7 separate regions of the Homo sapiens genome follow, and regions 1, 3, 4, 5, 6 and 7 are each linked to region 2. Evidence: promoter capture Hi-C in 16 types of primary human blood cells and fetal thymus (Javierre and others, 2016). All regions are on one chromosome and are shown on one strand. The core of a region is centred on a gene start or on the middle of the fragment in contact, and the rest is flanking DNA. Distances in the headings are between cores, read along the strand shown.

What was found. The method cuts DNA at HindIII sites, captures the fragments that hold promoters and counts their contacts. A CHiCAGO score of 5 or more calls a contact.
Region 1: a fragment that was not itself captured here is called in contact with the fragment with the promoter of CELF3 in region 2 in 2 of 17 cell types (M2 macrophages and M0 macrophages); the score reaches 5.4 in M2 macrophages.
Region 3: a fragment that was not itself captured here is called in contact with the fragment with the promoter of CELF3 in region 2 in 1 of 17 cell types (megakaryocytes); the score reaches 5.6 in megakaryocytes.
Region 4: a contact is called between a fragment that was not itself captured here and the fragment with the promoter of CELF3 in region 2, in 5 of 17 cell types (M1 macrophages, erythroblasts, M2 macrophages and 2 more). The highest score is 8.1, in M1 macrophages.
Region 5: a contact is called between a fragment that was not itself captured here and the fragment with the promoter of CELF3 in region 2, in 10 of 17 cell types (M0 macrophages, M1 macrophages, endothelial precursors and 7 more). The highest score is 24.5, in M0 macrophages.
Region 6: a fragment that was not itself captured here is called in contact with the fragment with the promoter of CELF3 in region 2 in 7 of 17 cell types (M0 macrophages, M2 macrophages, M1 macrophages and 4 more); the score reaches 12.4 in M0 macrophages.
Region 7: a fragment that was not itself captured here is called in contact with the fragment with the promoter of CELF3 in region 2 in 11 of 17 cell types (M1 macrophages, M0 macrophages, M2 macrophages and 8 more); the score reaches 17.9 in M1 macrophages.

The regions. Positions count from the first base shown.
Region 1 is chr1:151,868,086-151,870,947 of GRCh38, reverse strand. THEM4 (thioesterase superfamily member 4) reads left to right here. Exons shown (of 6, transcript NM_053055.5): 6 at 1-82. Among named protein-coding and RNA genes, the nearest start is that of THEM5, 16 kb to the right of the region's middle. The HindIII fragment of the contact is 1,301 bases long and covers 929-2,229 here.
Region 2 is chr1:151,715,405-151,718,252 of GRCh38, reverse strand. CELF3 (CUGBP Elav-like family member 3) reads left to right here and starts at 1,450. Exons shown (of 13, transcript NM_007185.7): 1 at 1,450-2,377. The coding sequence starts at 2,233. It also overlaps a transcript of RIIAD1 not described here. RefSeq lists an enhancer at 1,226-1,520. The HindIII fragment of the contact is 2,919 bases long and covers 565-2,848 here.
Region 3 is chr1:151,885,271-151,888,086 of GRCh38, reverse strand. The region is part of intron 4 of THEM4 (thioesterase superfamily member 4); the gene reads left to right. Among named protein-coding and RNA genes, the nearest start is that of THEM4, 23 kb to the left of the region's middle. The HindIII fragment of the contact is 5,004 bases long and covers 1-2,816 here.
Region 4 is chr1:151,471,004-151,473,923 of GRCh38, reverse strand. No RefSeq gene overlaps it. Among named protein-coding and RNA genes, the nearest start is that of POGZ, 13 kb to the right of the region's middle. The HindIII fragment of the contact is 4,139 bases long and covers 1-2,920 here.
Region 5 is chr1:151,536,157-151,539,076 of GRCh38, reverse strand. CGN (cingulin) reads right to left here. Exons shown (of 21, transcript NM_020770.3): 19 at 2,732-2,840; 20 at 2,184-2,347; 21 at 385-1,872. The coding sequence ends at 1,731. Among named protein-coding and RNA genes, the nearest start is that of TUFT1, 2.7 kb to the left of the region's middle. RefSeq lists an enhancer at 1-23. The HindIII fragment of the contact is 471 bases long and covers 1,396-1,866 here.
Region 6 is chr1:151,490,919-151,493,707 of GRCh38, reverse strand. No RefSeq gene overlaps it. Among named protein-coding and RNA genes, the nearest start is that of CGN, 19 kb to the left of the region's middle. The HindIII fragment of the contact is 6,284 bases long and covers 1-2,789 here.
Region 7 is chr1:151,562,229-151,564,928 of GRCh38, reverse strand. TUFT1 (tuftelin 1) reads right to left here. Exons shown (of 13, transcript NM_020127.3): 3 at 2,243-2,344; 4 at 939-1,025; 5 at 315-404. Among named protein-coding and RNA genes, the nearest start is that of MIR554, 18 kb to the right of the region's middle. The HindIII fragment of the contact is 1,878 bases long and covers 362-2,239 here.

The DNA of each region.
Region 1 (2,862 bases), core at 330-2,829, 150 kb before region 2:
ATAATTAGGCCGTGAGTTTTTGCTCTTACTCCCAGGTTTCTAAATGTCTAAGAAACAATAAAATGAGAGTCATGTACAGAAATATATTGTTGGAAGAATTTTTTCAAAAAGCAAAATAAGATTAAGTTTTTTCTCTAATGGGAAGATGGAATGAAATATATAAGTTAAGAAAAACCTTTTCTTCTGTATTAAGGAAGCTCATATCCTACATGTTCCTATGTTCCCTATCCCATTACCTTCTCAGGACGCTTAACCTCTTCTGGGGACTTATGAAGCCAAATTATTGTCTTACCTAATGGATGACCATCATGGGACCCTAGTCAAACATATTTTTCAGGACCAAGTATACAACATCCTCTGTGATGGAGACAATGAGGCAATCTTTCAAATTTAAGTCACTAAAGTCATGAATTTTATGTCTCAGAAAAGTTTGAAATTTCACTTGATAGTATTCTTGGTCTGGCACTACTCTGGCCAGTTTAGAATTACAGAATTGGTTTATTCCTTCTCAATTATAGATTTAAAATTAAGTGGACTGCAGACAAAGATACCATAAGAGGAAAAAAAAAGTCAAAACTACAGATCAATATCCCTTACGAGTATAGATGCAAAAATACTCAACAAGATAACAAGCAAATCCAATAGCACATTAAAAAGATTATATGCTATGACCAAGTGAGATTTATCCCAGAAAGGCAGAGGTGGTTCAACATAAGAAAATAAATCAATGTAATACACCACATTTATACTTCAAGAGAGTAAAACCACATGATCATCTCAATTGGTGCAAGGAATGGCATTTGACAAAATCCAACACCCTTTCATGACAAAAAGCACTCAGAAAACTAGGAATAGAAAAAGACTACCTGAACATAATCTAGAAAAATGCACAGCTGGTATCACACTCAGTGATAAAAGACAGAAAGCTTTCCCCTAACGTTAGGAAAAAGGTAAGGATTTCCACCTTCACTACTGCTATTCAATATAGTACTGGAAGTCTTACCCAGAGGAATTAAGCAAGAAAAACAAAAACAGCTTGCAAATTAGAAAGGAAGATGTAAAATTATCTCTATTTGCAGATGACATGTCTACATATAGAAAATCCCAAAGAATTCACCAAAAAAACAAAACTAGCACTAATAAATAAATTCAGCAAAATTGCAGGGTACAAAACTTCATTGGCTGGGTGCGGTGGCTCAAGCCTGTAATCCCAGCACTTTGGGAGGCCGAGGCAGGCGGATCACAAGGTCAGGAGATCGAGACCATCCTGGCTGACATGGTGAAACCCCATCTTTACTAAAAATACAAAAAATTAGCCAGGCATGGTGGCGGGTGCCTGTAGTCCCAGCTACTCAGGAGGCTGAGGCAGGAGAATGGCATGAACCCGGGAGGCGGAGCTTGCAGTGAGCCGAGATTGCGCCACTGCACTCTAGCCTGGGCGACAGAGCAAGACTCCATCTCAAAAAAAAAAAAAAAAAATTCATCTTTTGTGCATTAAAGAATAATATCAGTGAAGTGAAAAAAAATCCCTACAGAATGGGAAAAATATTTGCAAATTATATATCCAAAAAGGTGTTCGCATTCAGAATATATAAGGAATTCTTACAACTCAACAACAAAGAACCCAGTTTAAAAATGGGGGAAGAACTTGAATGGACATTTCTCCAAAGAAGATATGGAAATGGAAATGGCTAACAAGTATATGAAAAGAGCCTCAACATCACTAATCATTAGAAAAATGCAAATCAAAACCACAATGACCACACCTACTAAAATGCCTATAATTTTTTTATTTTATTTTATTTTTTTTTTTTGAGATGGAGTTTCGCCCTTGTTGTCTAGGTTGGAATGCAATGGCGCGACCTGGGGTCACTGCAACCTCCGCCTCCCAGGTTCAAGTGATTCTCCTGCCTCAGCCTCCCAAGTAACTGAGATTACAGGCACCCACCACCACACCTGGCTAATTTTTTTGTGTATTTTTAGTAGAGATGGGGTTTCACCATCTTGGCCAGGCTGGTCTATAATTTTTCGTTTTTAAAAACAGTGTCAAGGAGGATGTAAAAAAAAAAAATAGAAACTTCATACATTGCTGGGTGAATATAAAATAATGCAGCTGCTACGGAAAATTTGGCAGTTCCCCAAAAAGACATACAATTACTATATGACCCAGCAATTCCACTGCTAGGTATAAATAAAAGAGAAATGAAAACACGCATCCACACAGAAGCTTGTACACTAGTGTTTATAATAGCATTATTCGTAATAGCCAAAATGTGGAAACAACCCAAATGGCCATTAATGAATGAATAGATAAACAAATTGTAGTACACACACACACACACATAATAGACTATTATTCAGCCATACAAAGGAATGAAATACTGAAACATGCTGCAGCTTGGATAAACCTCAAAAGCATCACATTAAGTGAAAGAAAACAATACTATATTTAGAATAGGCAACTCCATAGAGACAGAAAATAGATTAGTGATTGATATGGTTTGGCTGTGTCCCCACCCAAAATCTCATCTTGAATTGTAATCCAAATTGTAATCCCCATGTGTTGGGGACAGGACCTTGTGGAAGGTGATTAGATCATGGGGGCAGTTCCCCCATGCTGTTCTCGTGGTAGTGAGTGCATTCTCATGAGATCTGATGGTTTTATAAAGGGCTTTTCCCCACTTCACTCAGCACTTCTCTCTCCTGCTATGTCAGGAAGGATGTGTTTTCTTTCCTTTTTGCCATGATTGTAAGTTTCCTGTGTCCTCCCCAGCCATGCAGGACTGCGAGTCAATTAAACTTCTTTCCTTTAGAAATTTACCCAGTCTCGGGCAGTTCATAGCAGTGTGAGAATGGACTAAT
Region 2 (2,848 bases), core at 201-2,700:
GTAAATATAAAGCACTTGGCACAAAGCCTGGGACACTGTAAGAGCCATGTAAGCACTGGCTGTTACTATTATTTCCCTTCCAGAAGAGAAGCCTGCCTGCCGTGATAGCTCAGGAATGGAGGCCCCTGGGACTCAGCTGGGACACAGTTTAGAGACACGAGTGCCTCTGTGGAAACAGCAGCCCTACCCCGGGGGAGAAGAAGGGAATGACAGGAAGACAGGGTGCTCTACAAAAGCCCAGAGCCCCAGGAGAGCCCCCGTTGCTGAGCACTGACAGAAAGCAAGGGCTACCACCACTGACAAGGTTTGATGTCCACAGATAATCCCTGCACTGAGGGCGTGCTCTGAGTGGGCCCAGTGCATGGAGGGGTCACGCTCCCTCCAGATCGTGGAGCCTGCCAATCATCCATAGAAGTATCCATGGTCAGGGGAGCAATGGTCCCCGAATGTGCCTCCCCTGCTCTTCTGTGCTACCTGGCTCAATTTGAGTCCAACTCAAAGAACCCAACTGAAGAAAGAAGCAAAGGAAAGAGTAATTGGGTTTCTGCATCCTAAGGGGAAGCTTGACAGCTGTGGTTCTTCCCACTGAAGGAATCAGGAATCCACTGTTGTCAGAGGTTGTTTGCATGGAGTGTTTGTTAAGCTCCTGCTACGCATGAGCAAGACAGGGTGCTAGACACTGTGAACAGTAAGATGCTGAATTAAACGGTGTCCTGGTCTTCAAGGAGCTTACAAGTGAGAGCGCCCGCGGCGCCGCCTCCGCGGCCTCCCTGCCCACGCACTTATACACACAAACCCCCCAGAGGGAGAGAAGGGGGCATCGGCAAATGCCAGAAAGCTATCGTTTTTCTTGGTTCCTTTTCTGGAAAATATACAGTTCTCTTTCTGCATTCTTCTCATCCTGCTCCTCCTTCTCCACGTCCCTTTCCATTTTTCCTCTCTGCATTTTTTCTTTTTCCCCCAGACTCTGCGACCTGCTTCCCTCTCCATCTATATCTCCTTTCCCTTCAGCCTATGCAACCGTCCTTTCTCATTTTTCTTTCCCCTGATTTCTTTCCTTGACTCTCTACTCTTGGGGCTCCCCAGATGCCGGGCTCCCCTCTTTCCCCGCCACCCCCCATCTGCTGAGTCTTCCAGCACCGGGGACAGCTCCAGCCCCCGGAACAATGGACCCCACTTTAGGGTTCCTCTATAAATTCTCCATCTTAGTGCTTTGCCCAACTCCTGACTGGGGAGTAAGATGGGGGAAGGGTTATTATCAACAGGACCAGCTGCTCTTCTGGGGGCGGGAAGGGAGTCAGGGAGGATGGAGATAGAAAGAGGGCGTGGCTCGTGCCTGGATTGTGCGTCCCTCTCCAGGGTAGAGAATTTGTATTCGACCCCTGAGACTGACATCACTGATGTCAGGGGAAAGGAGGTGGGAGTGGGGAGGGGGGTGTGGAGGGGGGAGGTTTTTGTTGAGGAGAGCGCGGCCGGAGAGCAGAGCTCCGGGACCCAGGTGACCGGGAAAGCAGGCAGCCCCAGCGGCGGGAGCAGCCGGCAGCAGCCCAGGCCCGGGGACTGGGGTGGGGGTGGGAGGGGGGCTGAGGGGAGGACCTGAAGGGGGGCGGCAGGGCAAAAGGGACCCCTGGAGCCCTGCCGCCATCAGAGATCAAGCATCTGGCATCAGGGATCTTCGGACCCAGCAGAAGGATCCGCCACAGGGGAGGTGTCCTCCCAGGGAAGCCAACGAGAGATTCACCTGCCCCACATCAGGAGTGGGCCCCCCTTACTGACGCTGCTGGCAACCATAGCAGGCCCCTTAACCCCTCAGTCTCCTCCCCATCACCCTCCTCAGGCCCTTTCCCCGCCTCCAGCTCTCATCTCAACTCCCAGTTCCCAGCCCTCTAAGCCCTAGCACCCCCGGCTACCACCTAACCCTCCAGGTCTTGGCCATACTCACCCCCATCCTGGGACATTTGCCAGATCTCTGGGAGGGAGATCGTTTGTTTAGGCGATGCCCCCTGGTGGCATGACAGCGTCTGCCTAGACCCCTGACCCCTAGCACTCAACTCCCTGGGCCTCCTTTGTGTGAAGAGCCGCCCCTCTGCTTAGCAGCGTGGTTGGGGGCCAAAGGGAAAGCCAGCCCCAGCTGGGCCCCCGGGCCCCACCACTTATCTCCTTGCTGGGCAGCTCCCCTTGGCCTTTGGGCCTCTCCCTGCTCCCCTCGGCCCCTCCTCCTGGGCCGCCTCAATGAAGGAGCCGGATGCCATCAAGCTGTTTGTGGGGCAGATCCCGAGGCATCTGGAGGAGAAGGACCTGAAGCCCATCTTCGAACAGTTTGGTCGGATCTTTGAGCTGACTGTCATCAAGGACAAGTACACCGGGCTGCACAAGGGTGAGGGGTCGGGCAGGCTGAAGAGGCTTCGGGGTGGGCTGGGAGGCTGGGGGAAGTTAAGCCAGGCTGGAGGGGTGGAGCGGCTGGGAAGGGCTGATGTGGAAGGAGAAGAGTTCAGGCCTGAGGAAAGTGGATGGAGGAGCTGAAAAAGAACTCAGCTAGAGTGATCAGGAAACCCCGGTGAAGGACTAAGGAGGGCCTCTTTTGGCTGAAGAGTTGTCAAGACGGCTGCAAAGATGTGGATCCCAGACATATGGGTGTGTTGATGTCATGGGATGAACTCAAGAAAGAATGGAGGGACAAGAGAGCTGGTTTGGGAGATAAGCAGCTGGGTAGGGGTGTGTGTGTGTGTGCGTGTGCAGCAAGACTGAGAATCTGAGCAGCCTCAGATAATATTGGGATGGGGGTCAGGACACAGGGTCAGGTGTTCAATGTGGAAAGCGTGGAGCTGGACTGGGCAGGGCAGCTCCA
Region 3 (2,816 bases), core at 23-2,522, 170 kb before region 2:
AAGTCCAGCAAAGCATAGCTTTAGCCAGATCATACAAGAGAGCTCTAGAATGAAATTTATGCCTCAGAATTGTCTCCATCTCAGATGAGGGAGCTAGAGTCTTTATACTCTCGCATGTATTGGTCATAGGATCAGGGCCATCCCAGGGACCATAAATTTCCAAGTACTTCTAAGGGTCTCTGTGTTTGAGCAAAGCAGACTCTAGAGAAAATAACCAAAACAAGTGAAGAAAGGATCCAAGGGGCTCTGGGTGGAGCACCAACATCTACTACATAACAAAATTAATTTTTTAAAAATTTAGCTGGGCCCAGCAGTGCACGTCTGTAGTCCTAGCTTCTTGAGAGGATTGCTTGAGCCCAGGAGTTCAAGGCTACAGTGAGCTAGGATCATGCCACTGCACTCCAGGGTGGGCAACAAGACCCCAACTGTAAAAAAAACAACAACAACAAAAACACACACACACACACAAAACACCGAGTCTTTTCAGTCCACAGGCACAGATGTCTTTCCATTTATTTGTGTCTTTAATTTTTTTCATCAATGTTTTGTAGTTTTCAGTGTATAAGACTTTTGCTCTTTGGTTAAGTTTATTCCTATGTATTTTATTCTTTTTGATTTTTTTATTTTTAATTTTTTTATTATTATTATTATTATTTTGAGACAAAGTCTCACTTTATTGCTCAGGCTGGAGTGTGGTGGCATGATCTCAGCTCATTGCAACATCCACTTCCCAGGTTCAAGCTATTCTCATGCCTCAGCCTGCCAAGTAGCTGGTATTACAGGCATGCACCACCACAGCTGGCTAATTTTTTGTATTTTCAGTAGAGACAGTGTTTCACTTTGTTGGCCAGGCTGATCTCAAACTCCTGGCCTCAAGTGATCCGCCTGCCTTGGCCTGCCAAAGTGCTGGGATTACAGATGTGAGTCACTGCACCTGGCCTTAATTGTTTTCTTAATTTCCTTTTTGGATTAGTCATTGTTTGTGTATAGAAATGCAACTGCTTTTTCTGTGTTGATTTTACATCTTGCAGCTTTGCTGAATTTGTTTATTCATTCTAACAGGTTTTTGTGGAATCTTTAGGATTTTCTATATACAAAGTCATGTCATTTGTAAACAGATCTTTGTACTTCTTCCTTTCCAATTTGAATACCTTTGATTTCTTTTTCTTGCCTAATTGCTCTGGCTAGGACTTCTAGTACCATGTAGAATAGAAGTGGCAAAAGTGGGCATCCTTGTCTTGTTTCTGATCTTAAATGAAAAGGTTTTAGTCTTTTACCATTCAGCATGATGTTAGTTGTAGGGTTTTCATAAATAGCCTTTATTATGTTGAGAGAGTTTCTTTCTATTCCTAGTTGTGCCTTAGATTTTTAACCTTTAAACCCAGATTGTCATTGTACCTCCTTTTAACAATTTTAATAGCAATTACATTGATTCTAGAGATTAATTTGGGGAAAGTTGACATATTTACAGATGGTCAATATTTCATATTAGTTATAACTATAAATTAGATTCTAGAAATCTGGGTTTTCTTAACATGTTAAAGAATATATTAAAAATTAAATTTTTTATATTTTTCCATGTCCCATGTTTTTAAAAATATTTTTCCATGTTCAAATAAAGTTGAATAATGAAGTATAACATCGTTCCTAAAAAAATAAATGTAAACGGTTACTTTGAAAACAAGCTGAAACAAAGTATTTAGATTGCTGTTTATCTCAAAAAGTGTTTGTGTCTTAAGCACATACTCAAATGCAAAATGGGAAACAGAACCTGCCAAACTCTATGCTTAGTGTTTGTCCCACCCAATAAACCATCCACAAAAATCAGTTGCATTGCTGTTCATTTGTTCCCCACAATTGGAAAACATACTGAAAAGAAGTTTTACCTGAAGTCATATGGATAGAGAGCAATTTAGTCAGAATTAGAACTCACATCTTATGACACCAAATCTGATGCTCTTCACTACAACACACAGCCTCCATTGTCTTCTGTTAGTTGATGACTAAAGACCAGAATAAAGTATTGGATTTTATAAGTAGTTTAGAATTTAATATTTATCACTCTCTGTTTTTTTGTATACAGTTATTTAGGTTCATAATAATAGTAATAATATTAAATTTAATATGATTACTTGACAGTCCTTCAAGATGCTACAGGTAACAACCTGGGATTATATTTTAATTGAAAATAATTTGCAGTGTCAATTAATCATCAGATGCCTTAATCTACCTTACTTCCTTTAAGAAGCAAGATTATTCCTTAATGATTTCAAATAATTTCCAGCCCTCTGATCCAAATATCCCACTTGATTTATTTCCTTGTGCCTAGCACATTAAGATAAATAGACAAAGCAGGTCAAACTAGTGATGACAAGCCAGCTGAAAGGGTAAATATCTCAGCATGCCAATGACCCATTCATGACACATGAGTTGAGAAGCTCCTGATTCGATTTCTTCATGCAACATGGCAAACAAGAAATGCTAAAGGACATTCCTCCTTCAAAACAAGTAGATCCTGTACCAAATACACAAGGAAAGAAACTACCAAGGGTGACTATCAACAGAAACAATAAATAAGATTTAGACCTCAGGGATCTAAGATATGATGATAATCAAATACACAATATAAATGAATAAAGTATGAGATGTTTAAAGAAATAAAAGATGAGGCTGGGCACAGTGGCTCACGCCTGTAATCCCAGCACTTTGGGAGGCCAAGGCGGGTGGATCACCTGAGGTCAGGAGTTCAAGACCACCCTGGTCAACATGGCAAAACCCTGACTTTACTAAAAATACAGAAATTACCCAGGTGTGGT
Region 4 (2,920 bases), core at 53-2,552, 240 kb after region 2:
TGTCAAGTGAGACCAGCAGCCAGAGCCTAGGAGCCTGATGTTGGGCCCTGTTAAAATGTTATTTACATCTAAATTAATTTGAGAGAGAAAAAGAAAGTAGGAAAAACTATATTTTAAATATCACATTTTTTTTTCCTCCACTTCATTTTCTGCACTCCTACTATGGCTCCCTTAACTCAGTCTGAGGCCAAGAGATTATGATGACAAAAGAGAAATGATCAATAAGAAAAGGCGGCTCCTGAAAACCCAAGCCCACTCGAGGGTTCAGACCTCGAATCCCACCCTTCGGAGCCTCGCCGCTCCCTCCCGGGTTGCGGGCGCCAGCAGAGGAGCGCAGGGCGGACACTGCCCTTTTCTGGACTTCGGTGCTCTTCACCCCGCTTCCCAGTGCCTCCTGCCGCCCCGCGGCCTCCACACCCACGCGCCGCGGGCCCCCGCGCCTTCGCGGCTCCAGCTGTCCCCTCCCGGTATACCCACCCACCCGCACGTCCAACGCCCTTTTTTCCCCCCCCGAAAACTTTCTAGACGGTAGGGACTATTTTCTTCTAATGTAACCTTCCACCAAACTGGAGGGAAAAGTTACCCGAGGCCAGAGAAGGGCTGGGGACGTGGGAGGGACTCACAAGATCCCTGGTTCTAAAAACAGAGGTCTCTTTCCATGAAAGTGAGTAACTGGGCCCCCAAGCCAGAGTTTTGTTTGTTGGATTAATTGGTCAAGGTGCACGTTGAAGCTAAATATCTTAAATGGAGATTTTTAAAAAATGGATATAAAATAGACTCCACTAGACAAATGGTTCTTGTCTTCAGACCTTGCAGTTCTTTCTATTGATTCTCATGTTATCTGTCCCTCCCTACCCCGGGCTCCCACGTCATGAGGTTCACGTATAGGGAAATCCAGGTCACTTCAGTATGATGACTTCATAAACCCTAGAGGAAGAAGTCAAATCTAGAAACTGCTCTTTGAGGCAGTTTGCTGAATTCTATTCTGTATTCTGGAAAGGTAAGCTAACCTGCAGAAATAGTTAATGATTGGGATAATCCTCTAGACCTTCTTTTTCAAACTGGGTGGCAAAATCAGTTTGACAAGCAGTATTAAGAAGGAAGGAGAGGACGGAATGATGGAAGAAAGGGCTGGGCACAGTGGCCCAAGCTGTAATCCCTGCACTTTGGGAGGCCGAGGCAGGGGGAACACTTGAGGCCCCAGGTTGGAGACCAGACTGGGCAACATAGGGAGATCCCATCTCTACAAATAAAAATAAAACTAGCCGGGTGTGGTGGTGCACTTCTGTGGTCCCAGCTACTCCAGAGGCTGAGGCAGGAGGATTGCATGAGCCCAGGAGTTCAAGGCTGCAGTGAGCCATGTTTTATAAGCCACTGCACTCCAGCTTGGGCAACGGAGCAAGACACTGTCTCAAAAAAAAAAAAAAAAAAAAAAGAGGTGTAATAAAAGAGAATAGAAAGCTATCACATAGTGAATATCAGTAGTCTTTCATACAATCTGAATCATGAAAAGTACTGTGTGTTTGTGTGTAGCCAGTCAAGATGTAGAATATGCTTTTTACTGTGGGTGGCTGTCAAAAAATGTTTAAAAACCACTGTGCTAGACAGTGGAACTTTTTAAGGATGCTTAGATTGGAAAGGTTGAAAAGTCATCTAATTTATTCCTCTATACTTAGACAGTATTTCATTTTAAGAATAGTACAGACTTTAATTACCTTTCTTGCTTATCATCTCATCTCAACATTTCCTACTAATGATTTGTGAATAATTTGTCTCTTTAAAGCTATTATTTCAGTAAAGAAAGCTATAACTTTCTTTACTGAAAGAAAGTTATACAAAGGCAATTCTGCCAAGTTCCCTTTTTTTCTATGGCTCTTCTATCCTGTCCCCTGGGCAGTGGACATATTACAAATGTGCCTGAAAGATCTGTCTCCAGTGGAGTCCCAGAGAAATCTGAGTTGCTGGAATATCATGTCATCAGATACCCCCATGGATCTATTTTACTTTATTTTAAAATTTGAATTTTTATTTATCTTTTTTCCCCTTATTATTTATTTCTAAAATTTCATCCACCCATATAGGTTATATGAAAGCCTGAAGGTCTTTGTTTGTTTGTTTGTTTGTTTTGAGATGGAGTCTTGCTCTGTTGCCCAGGCTGGAGTGCAGTGGCGCAATCTCAGCTCACTGCAACCTCTGCGTCCTGGGTTCAAGCAATCCTCCTGTCTCAGACTCCTTAGTAGCTGGATTTACAGGCGCACACCACCACGCCCGGCTAATTTTTGTATTTTCAGTAGAGACGGGGTTTCACCATTTTGGTCAAGCTGTTCTCGAACTCCTGATCTCAGGTGATCCACCTGCCTTGGCCTCCCAAAGTGTTGAGATTATAGGCATGAGCCACCGCATCCAGCCAGAAAGCCCAAAGGTCTTGAATTGACTTTGTCCCTTCTCAAGTAGGGGAGCTCTCTGTCATGCTAACAAGTTTGTGACTGAAACTTTCTATCTTTACACCCATTTCTTCCCCCCATTACACACACTCCAATCTGGCCACTTTCAGTAGCTTAACGTTTGGATTAAAACGCCCAAATTGGGCCCGGTGCGGTGGCTCATGCCAGTAATCCCAGCACTTTGGGAGGCCGAGGCAGGTGGATCACTTGAGGTCAGGAGTTCAAGACCAGCCTGGCCAACATGGCAAAAGGGGTTTAATACAGATGGGGTCTCTATTAAAAGTAAAAAAGTTAGCTAGGCGTGGTGGTGGGCACTTGTAATCCTAGCTACTGGGTACTCGGGAGGCTGAGGCAGGAGAATCACTTGAACCTGGGAGGCAGAGGTTGCAGTGAGCCGAGATGGTGCCATTGCACTCCAGCCTGGGTAATGAGCGAAACTCCATCTTAAAAAAAAAAAAAAAAGTAGCCCAAGTGTA
Region 5 (2,920 bases), core at 382-2,881, 180 kb after region 2:
GCACGCGCCTGTAATCCCAGCTACTCAGGAGGCTGAGGCAGGAGAATCGCTTGAACCCGGGAGGCAGAGGTTGCAGTGAGCTGAGATCATGCCATTACACTCCAGCCTGGGTGACAGAGTGAGACTCCGTCTCAAAAAAAAAAAAAAAAAAAAGGCATTTACTGTCCTTGTTCTTCCCAGAAGGTTGTTCAGGAGAGAAGAGAATGGGGCTGCTATAAACATCTCCAGGTTTCGTAGGTCCCATCTGCTCTGTTCTAAAGGGCCTCTGAAAAGTCAGGTGAAGAAAACTCCAGCTTCGGCTCCTAAGCTGTACAGTTAATATGACTTCATAAAATCTGGACCTCCAAATATGCCAAGAAAAAGAATGAGAAGACAAACCAAGGATTTCAATATAAATGTGTAATTTTAATATTTAATTTAAAATAAAACCAAGGCTGGATTGGATTGGGAAAGAACGTTTGATTTGCAGAAGAATATAGGAATTTTTTTAATCACGACATTACAAGTCATTTGTGAAAACAGCCTTCCTCCTGCCACCGGCTCCCTATACAACCTGCTTAGGAAATATGGAGGTGAATCATCCCCCTTACCTCTTCCCTACCAGGGCTTGGTTCTCCCCAAAATCCAAAGGAGAAATAAATGTCTTCCGTTGCCTCTTCCCATTTTTACAGTCAGCTTCTAACCCCTTGCAAAGCCCTGAATCAGAGCCAAGCACCTCAGAAAATGAGGGTCCCTTGGTTCTCTTATTGAAGTTGGGCACATGTGGTCAGAGAAGCCCCAAGGAAGGCCACAGGGACTGACACCTTTACTTTTGGAATTTGTGCAGCCAGTTGTCAGGGCTCCCAGGTGCAACCACCTTATAACCATATCCACAGTCACAGAGGAGGGAGAGGAGGAAGGATGAAAACCCTGAGCAGGACCAGACCCCCGCCACTTTATCATGACCCTACCAAAGTCCCTCTCCCAGGGGTCATTGGCAGAGAAACCCCAACAGCTCTCTCAATCAATCACTGGGGCAGCAGGGAAGGCTGAGGGCCCTGGCTGGGGAAAAGCTGGTCTTTGGAGAGGTATGAATGTGCAGATATAAAAAGCAAGAAGAGCATCCTTATCTCCTTGCCTTGGCTAAGGCACTGACAGGAAAAATGCAAGGTAGGAATGGCAAAGAGGGGAAAGGAAGAAGACAAAAATATAGGAACTGGAGGGGTATGGGGACTACCACATGGGCCCCATACTTGTGCAAAGAAATGGGTAGAGCCATGCCTGCATGTCTGTTACCCATAACATTCCCCTCACCCTGCTCCAGAGTGGAAGGAAAATGAGTTGCAGGAATCCAGGGAGCACAATAACATAGGGTATTTCCCTGAGCCTTAGGGTTAAGGGCTAAAGAATAAAGCTTTATACACATGGCAATTTCTATCCCTTCCTATCCTTCTCAGTCCCCATCAGCCTAATGCTGACCATCCTTCCACTATAAGAGAGATGAGGGAGGTGTCGGCACTTGAGGAAAAGGCTCAGTTGGCTTGAAATGTCCACTCCTACAGTGGAAAGTCCATCTATCAGCTTATTGCTGATGATTTTTTTTTTTTATCACCATCACTCTGACCCCTCCCTGTCTTAGGTCTGAATAATTGGGTCACCCATAGGAATGCAGAACCCAGGGTGGGCAGAGCAGAGCAGCACTTGCTGGGATAGGCCTCGAGCCTGGTTTCTGAGTCCTTGAGGACCACGAGCTAACAGGAGCTGGTCTGTAGGTTGCTCTCCGTAAGCAGTGATGCAATGGACGAGGGATCGTAGACACTGTCGAATTCCTCATCTGAGCTCAGCCCTTCGTTTTTGAGAGCTGACTCAGCAGCTGAGCGGGAAGCTTTGCGCCTGACTCAGAGAGAAGAATAATGGTTGGGGAGGGGAAAATAGAAATATTAAGACAGCCACCCTTTTTGTACAAAGGAAACCCCAATTCTTCTAAGGCCTAAAGTTTATTCACAAAATCCCCAACTAATCAGATTTGGGGAGGTACAGGATGGTGGCTGAGATACTAATAAATAAATATACTGGCTTCCAACCAGAAACAAGTGACTACACAGTACCATGTTAGAGATTCTCCTCCTTATCCAGCACAGGAGAGACCATTCCCTCCCTGCTCTAGTGTCCCTATGGAGCAAGGGCAAAAGGGTAGCCCATACCAGGAGTCCTTCTCCAGAGACTTGATCCGGGCCTGGAGCTGTTCATTGACCTCATGCTGCTCCTCCACCTCACGCTGGGCCTTCTTCCTCAGGCCGTCCAGTCGCTCAATTTCCTCTTCTGCTTCATCCACCTGACGCTTCAAAGCCTTCACCCTCAGGCTTAGCTGGGCAGGATACCAAGTCCACACATCTGAATAGCATCTACTACCATGGCCTGGGACCCTCCCCCATAACAATCTTGACAAGGTATAATTGCCGCTGGAAAAATGTGGCCTTGGGCAAGTTCCTTAACCTCACATGGTTGTCTTAGGGATTAAATGTATTAACACATGTGTAATACTTACAGAACCTAGCACATCATAAGCACTCAATATATACGCTTACCATGACTTCTCTAGTCTAGTCTTTTCAATCTAATCTCTGTCCTTATACAAGGAAAGTCTAAGTTTGGAGGACCTATAGGAGATAAGGGCCTCCCTTGGCTTTCAGGAAAACATATAATATATACCTGCCCCAGGTTGCTTGGCTCCAGGGTGCCATGTCCTCACCTGGTCTTTCTGGTCATTGACATGCTGCCGCTCGTCTTCAATCTGGATGGATAGTTCTTTAACTTTCCGCTCCAGTTTTCGATTGGTAGACTGCAGAACTGTCTTCTCCCTAAGGTGAGGTAGAAGAATGTCTATGAGTGTCCCCATTTCTAAGGGAATCCTAACTTGGCCCCCTACTGTCCCCAAGGA
Region 6 (2,789 bases), core at 35-2,534, 220 kb after region 2:
ACCCGGCTAACTTTTGTATTTTTGGTAGAGATGATGTTTCATCATGTTGTCCAGGCTGGTCTTGAACTCCTGACCTCAGGAGATCTGCCCGCCTCAGCCTCCCAAAGTGCCGGAATTACAGGTGTGAGTCACCGCACCTGGCCATATTTCTTTCCTTTCTATTCACCATCTTCAAGCAGTTTATATGCAGTAATTCCAAGTTCCCTTGTCCCTCACCTGCAGTTGAGCTTGGAAACTGAAGGCTTTTCTGAGTCCTCCTTCTACCGGATGTCTCTTGTGCTTCTGCTCCCTATTTTTTCACACTCTTTTCTCCTTGGATTTCTATACCACTGCTCTATTATTTTCTACAGCTCTAGCCCTCCCCTGTCCCTGTGGGTACTTTTTTCCTTTCTCAGCTATTCCCCATAGCTGTGAAAAAGCTCTTTCCTTTCCTCTGCCCTCCACTCTTCCCCTTCAGTGGCTCATTCACTCTCATGCTTTCTCCTGCCACCTCCAAAAGCAGACAACTTTCAAATCTCCATTTTAAACACCGACCTCTCATCCATGTACTGAATCAGTATTTAACTTTCTCCAGAACTTTTGCACTTGTACGTCTCATCTCTACTTAGGACACAGACAAACCAAGCAAAGTAACTTCCCCCGTATACCAGCACTCCTTCTCAAATTCCCTGTCTTTACTTTTTGCAGCCCCCAATATATATATATATTTTTGAGACGCAGTCTCACTCTGTTGCCCAGGCTGGAGTGCAGTGGCGTGATCTCGGCTCACTGCAAGCTCCACCTCCCGGGTTCACACCATCCTCCTGCCTCAGCCTCCTGAGTAGCTGGGACTACAGGCACCCACCACCACGCCTGGCTAATTTTTTGTATTTTTAGTAGAGACGGGGTTTCACCGTGTTAGCAGGATGGTCTCATTCTCCTGACCTTGTGATCTGCCCGCCTTGGCCTCCCAAAGTGTTGGGATTACAGGCGTGAGCCACCGCGCCCGGCCTGCAGTCCCCAGTATTAGAAGGAGCAACTTCTTGCTTAGAGTTGCACTGGAGACTCGGTACTAATAATACCTGCCAGCTACCCTAAATAGGAAAGAAATTTAAATAAATTAATAGATACAAAACAAGTTTATGGCCATAGGTGGGGGTAATCTCAACCTTTGGCAAGCAAGGCTAGAAAGTAGCATCAGACTTCAAAGAAAACTTACCATTGTTAGGTTCAAGTCAGAGGGCAAAGAAGGAAAGTGCAGGACACTGGAGGGGATATAGGAGGTGGGAGGGCATCTGAGAACCTCAGAGAAGGAAGACTGAAGCAGGAGGGAGAATGGAGATAGGGATCTTGTGTGTGGGAAAACACACAAACTCAGAGTGTTTGTTCCTGTTATCTCACTCAACAGTAACAATCAACACAGACAGAAGACTCCTGTGACCAAATATGGAGGATTTCTCCCCACCAGCAAACAAGCAATCAGTTCTGCAGCAGACACCAGCTGGGTGTCCTCTAATTCGATTCTGACACCATCTACCAAGAGGCCACAGGTTGAGGGCTCAAACCCCAAAACTGCCCCCACCCACCCCATTCAGACACCAGTCAAAACCCAAGACTCCAGAATTTCTGACCCAGCAGATTCAAGTTGGGGCTCCTACAGCCCCCTCTTTGGACTCAATTCATTTGCTAGAGCAGCTCACAGAACTAAGGGAGACACTTCGTTTACCAGCTTATTAGAAAGGATATGACAGAGGATGTGAATGGAGAGATGCATGTCTGTTAGATTCTTCTTGGTCTCTCTATGCAGCCTTCCTTCCTCCAGGCTACGGGGTAGGACCCTCTCTGCAATCAGGGTCTTATGACTCACAATCAGATTAGAGTCCTGCATCTGGCAGGTGCAATGAGAACAGGAAGGCCCGGTGTGGTGGCTCATGCCTGTAATTCCCACACTTTGGAAGGCCGAAGCAGGTGGATTGCTTGAGCTCATGAGTTTAAGACCAGCCTGGGCAACATAGGGAGAGTGTCTCTACAAAAAATAAAAAATTAGCCGGACATGGTGGTGCACACTTGTAGTCCCAGCTACTCAGGAGCCTGAGGTGGGAGGATTGATTGAGTACAGGAGATCAAAGCTGCAGTGAGCAGTGATTACACCAATGCACTTCAACCTGGGCAACAGAGTGAGACATTATCTCAAAACATAAATAAATGAATAAATAAATAAGAGCGGGAGAAAGTCAGATAGCAAGAAAGTCTGCTTTCTGAGGCCGGCCTCTGAATCCTAAAGTGTCCTAACATTATAACAAAAGACTGTAGGCCGGGCACGGTGGCTCACGCCTGTAATCCCAGCACTTTGGGAGGCCAAGGCAGGTGGATCACCTGAGGTCGGGAGTTCAAGACCAGCCTGACCAACATGGAGAAACCCCGTCTCTACTAAAAATACAAAATTAGCCGGGCGTGGTGACGTATGTCTGTAATCCCAGCTACTTGGGAGGCTGAGGCAGGAGAATCACTTGAACCCAGGAGGCGGAGGTTGCAGTGAGCCAAGATTGCGTCATTGCACTCCAGCCTGGGCAACAAAAGTGAAACTCCATCTCAAAAAAAAAAAAAAAAAGAAAAAGAAAAAGAAAAAAAAAAAGACTGTAACAGGGGCATTGAGAGATATGAGCCAGGAGCTGTGGCCACATAGACTTCACATATCTACACTTAACTATTAATATTTGCTGATTCTGTATACTGTGCATGGTTAGCTCAGATAGAGTTTTGCTCCCATTAGTCAGTGAATTGACGTGGGATGACGATGATAAAAAGCG
Region 7 (2,700 bases), core at 51-2,550, 150 kb after region 2:
TGATCACAGAATCCTTATAGATAAGAGGTTTGCTAACAACTGATGATATTTAATTTATATAAGTTCAATTTCTGTACAGTGTTTCAGGAGCAGGTGTACTTATGTTTAAGCTGACATGTGTAAATGTAAGTGCTCATCGGCTGGAGAGTCCTAACCAGATTGTGAGTGCTCCAGAGAAGCCAGCATCACCTCTATTTTCTCCATTCCTGGCAGGGATGCTAGATTTAGCACACACTGGGTAATTGGTAAATGAGACTGCCTGGCACAACCCCACCTCCTCGGTGGGGACCCAACCATGGACCATTTCCTATTACCTGTATCTCCTGTCGATGGAGAGAATCTCCTAGGTTCCTGTCAAGCTTGCTACTTATATCCTCCCGGAGCTTCTGTAGGCAGTTCCTGGCCTGGGAGGGGAGGGGAAGAAACTTGAGCTTTAGGGTAGAGAAAGAGAGCATGCCAACTCACCCAACTCTGTGCCCCATCCCTGGCCTGTACTGCGAGTCAGGCACTGTCCTAACGACTGGCTGCAGGATGGAGGGAGGGACCTTGGTCAAGTGGAGCTACAGCTGACATTCTTGTTGGGGAGACACAAGACACAAAAGACAAATAAGTAAAATGTGTAATATGTTATATGGGCATAAGTGCCAACGAGAAACACGAGCCAGGAAGGGAGTTAAGAAATGCTGTGAAAAGTGGCTGGTAATTTTCGATAGGTGGCTGGGACAGTGCTGGGCCCATAGTACTTAAGTATTTGTGGATTAATGGATCAGGTATGGTCAAAAGTTATATATTTGACACACGGGAGGGCATGGTGGCATTTCAGAGACATAAAGGAAAAAGAAGGGGAAAAACCAGAATCCACAAAAGAAGACAGTCACAAAAAATGTGAGATTTAGAGAAATGACCTAGGCACTGCGTGAGAGGTAAGGGGTGCCCACCTCCTGGATGTACTGGACCTCACTCTTCAGCTGGTTAATATTCTTCTCGTGAATCATCTTGTCTCCAGACCTCCCCTTCAAGTACACCTGAAATAAGAACACCATTTAGTTAAGAAACCTCAAATTAAATTAACTATACAAAAATAGGCAGCTTCATATAGTGCTGGTGGGAGGGTAAATTGTTACCACCAATTTACTGGGTGGAATTTGGTGATTCGGATCAGAAGACCTAAAAATATATTTACTTTTTGGTCTATCAGTTCTACTTCTGGAAATTTACCCTAATGCAATAAATTTAGCTCAATGCTATATAGCTGTATTGGCATAAACACTCACATATATACAGTCATGCATCACTTAATCATAGGAATACATTCTGAGGGATGCATCATTAGGCAATTTCATCCTTGTACAAACATCACAGAGTGTACACACACAAACCTAGATGGCATGGCCTCCTACACCCCTAGGCTGTATGGTGTACCCTATTGCTCCTAGGCTACAAACAAACCTGCACAGCATGTTACTGTACTGAATACTGTAGGTGATCGTCACACAATGGTAATGTATCTAAACCCAGAAAAAATACAGTAAAAATGGAGTATAATAATCTTATGGGACCACTGTTGTCTACGCAGTCCATCACTGACCAAAACGTTGTTATGCAGTTTTGTTATGCACTGACCAAAACTGTAACTGAGTCAATCATGTGGTATGGGATTTATATCTAAAAAAGCTGTTTTATAAAAAAAAAGAGAGAGAGAAATAACAAAAATCATTTTATTTTTTAAAAAATAAGTTCCATCAGCCAGGTGGGCTGGTGCACGCCTATAATACCAGCATTTTGGGAGGCTGAGACAGGACGATTGCTCGAGCCCAGGATTTGGAGACCAGCCCAGGGAACAAGGCGAGACTGTCTCTACAAAACTAAAAATATATAAATAAATAAATAAGTTCCATCAGGATGAACCCATTATAGGAAAACATAAGTTCCATAAACACACCTCCTACCTGTCTCCACAACCTCTAGCAGCAAAACATGGTCAGTGGATAGGCCCCTAGTAAGGTCATCCAGTCCATCCCCTTGCCTGGGGCCAGGCTGCACCAAAGTTGCTAACAGGCAGACTGTAGTCTCCTGGTATTAATTAAGATATTTCTAGGAGATTGCCAGGAACTAGCAGCTCAGGTCTGGTTCCTTCCATCAAACCACAAGCTCCCTTTGGCAACAACATCAACTGCTCCTTCTCATATACGTGCAGGGAGGAAGAGGACAGGGAGAAAAGTTGGAGGTGAACTAAGCTTACCTTAATGATCTCCTCATGTCCATCATGGGACTCCACCAGTTCTGAAGCCAGAGAATGACCAGCTGAGTGGCTGGACACCATGGCATAGGTCTTCCTGCCCGCCTGGCCAAAGAGAGATGAGAGAGAGAGAGAGAGAGAGAGATGGCTCAGACACCACATGGCAAGCCCAGAACTCCTGCCCCTCAGCTAATGCAGAAGACCTGTTTCTCAAAAGACTTGAAGGATTAGTCTGACTTTCCTCTCCAAAAATTCGTTTCCGAACTTCTAACAGAAGCCACACAGCAGCAAGAACACCGGCCAGGGAGAATGGACAGAAGTAGCAGTTTAGTTTTAATTTTAGTGGGGGACTCCTCCTGCCCCAAAGCAGTGCAGAAGGCTGAGGCAAGCTGGATGTTGCTGAAAGGAGGGGCTCCCACGCTCGCATCACCAGAGTCGGCTCCAGGCAGTACTTGGGTAAG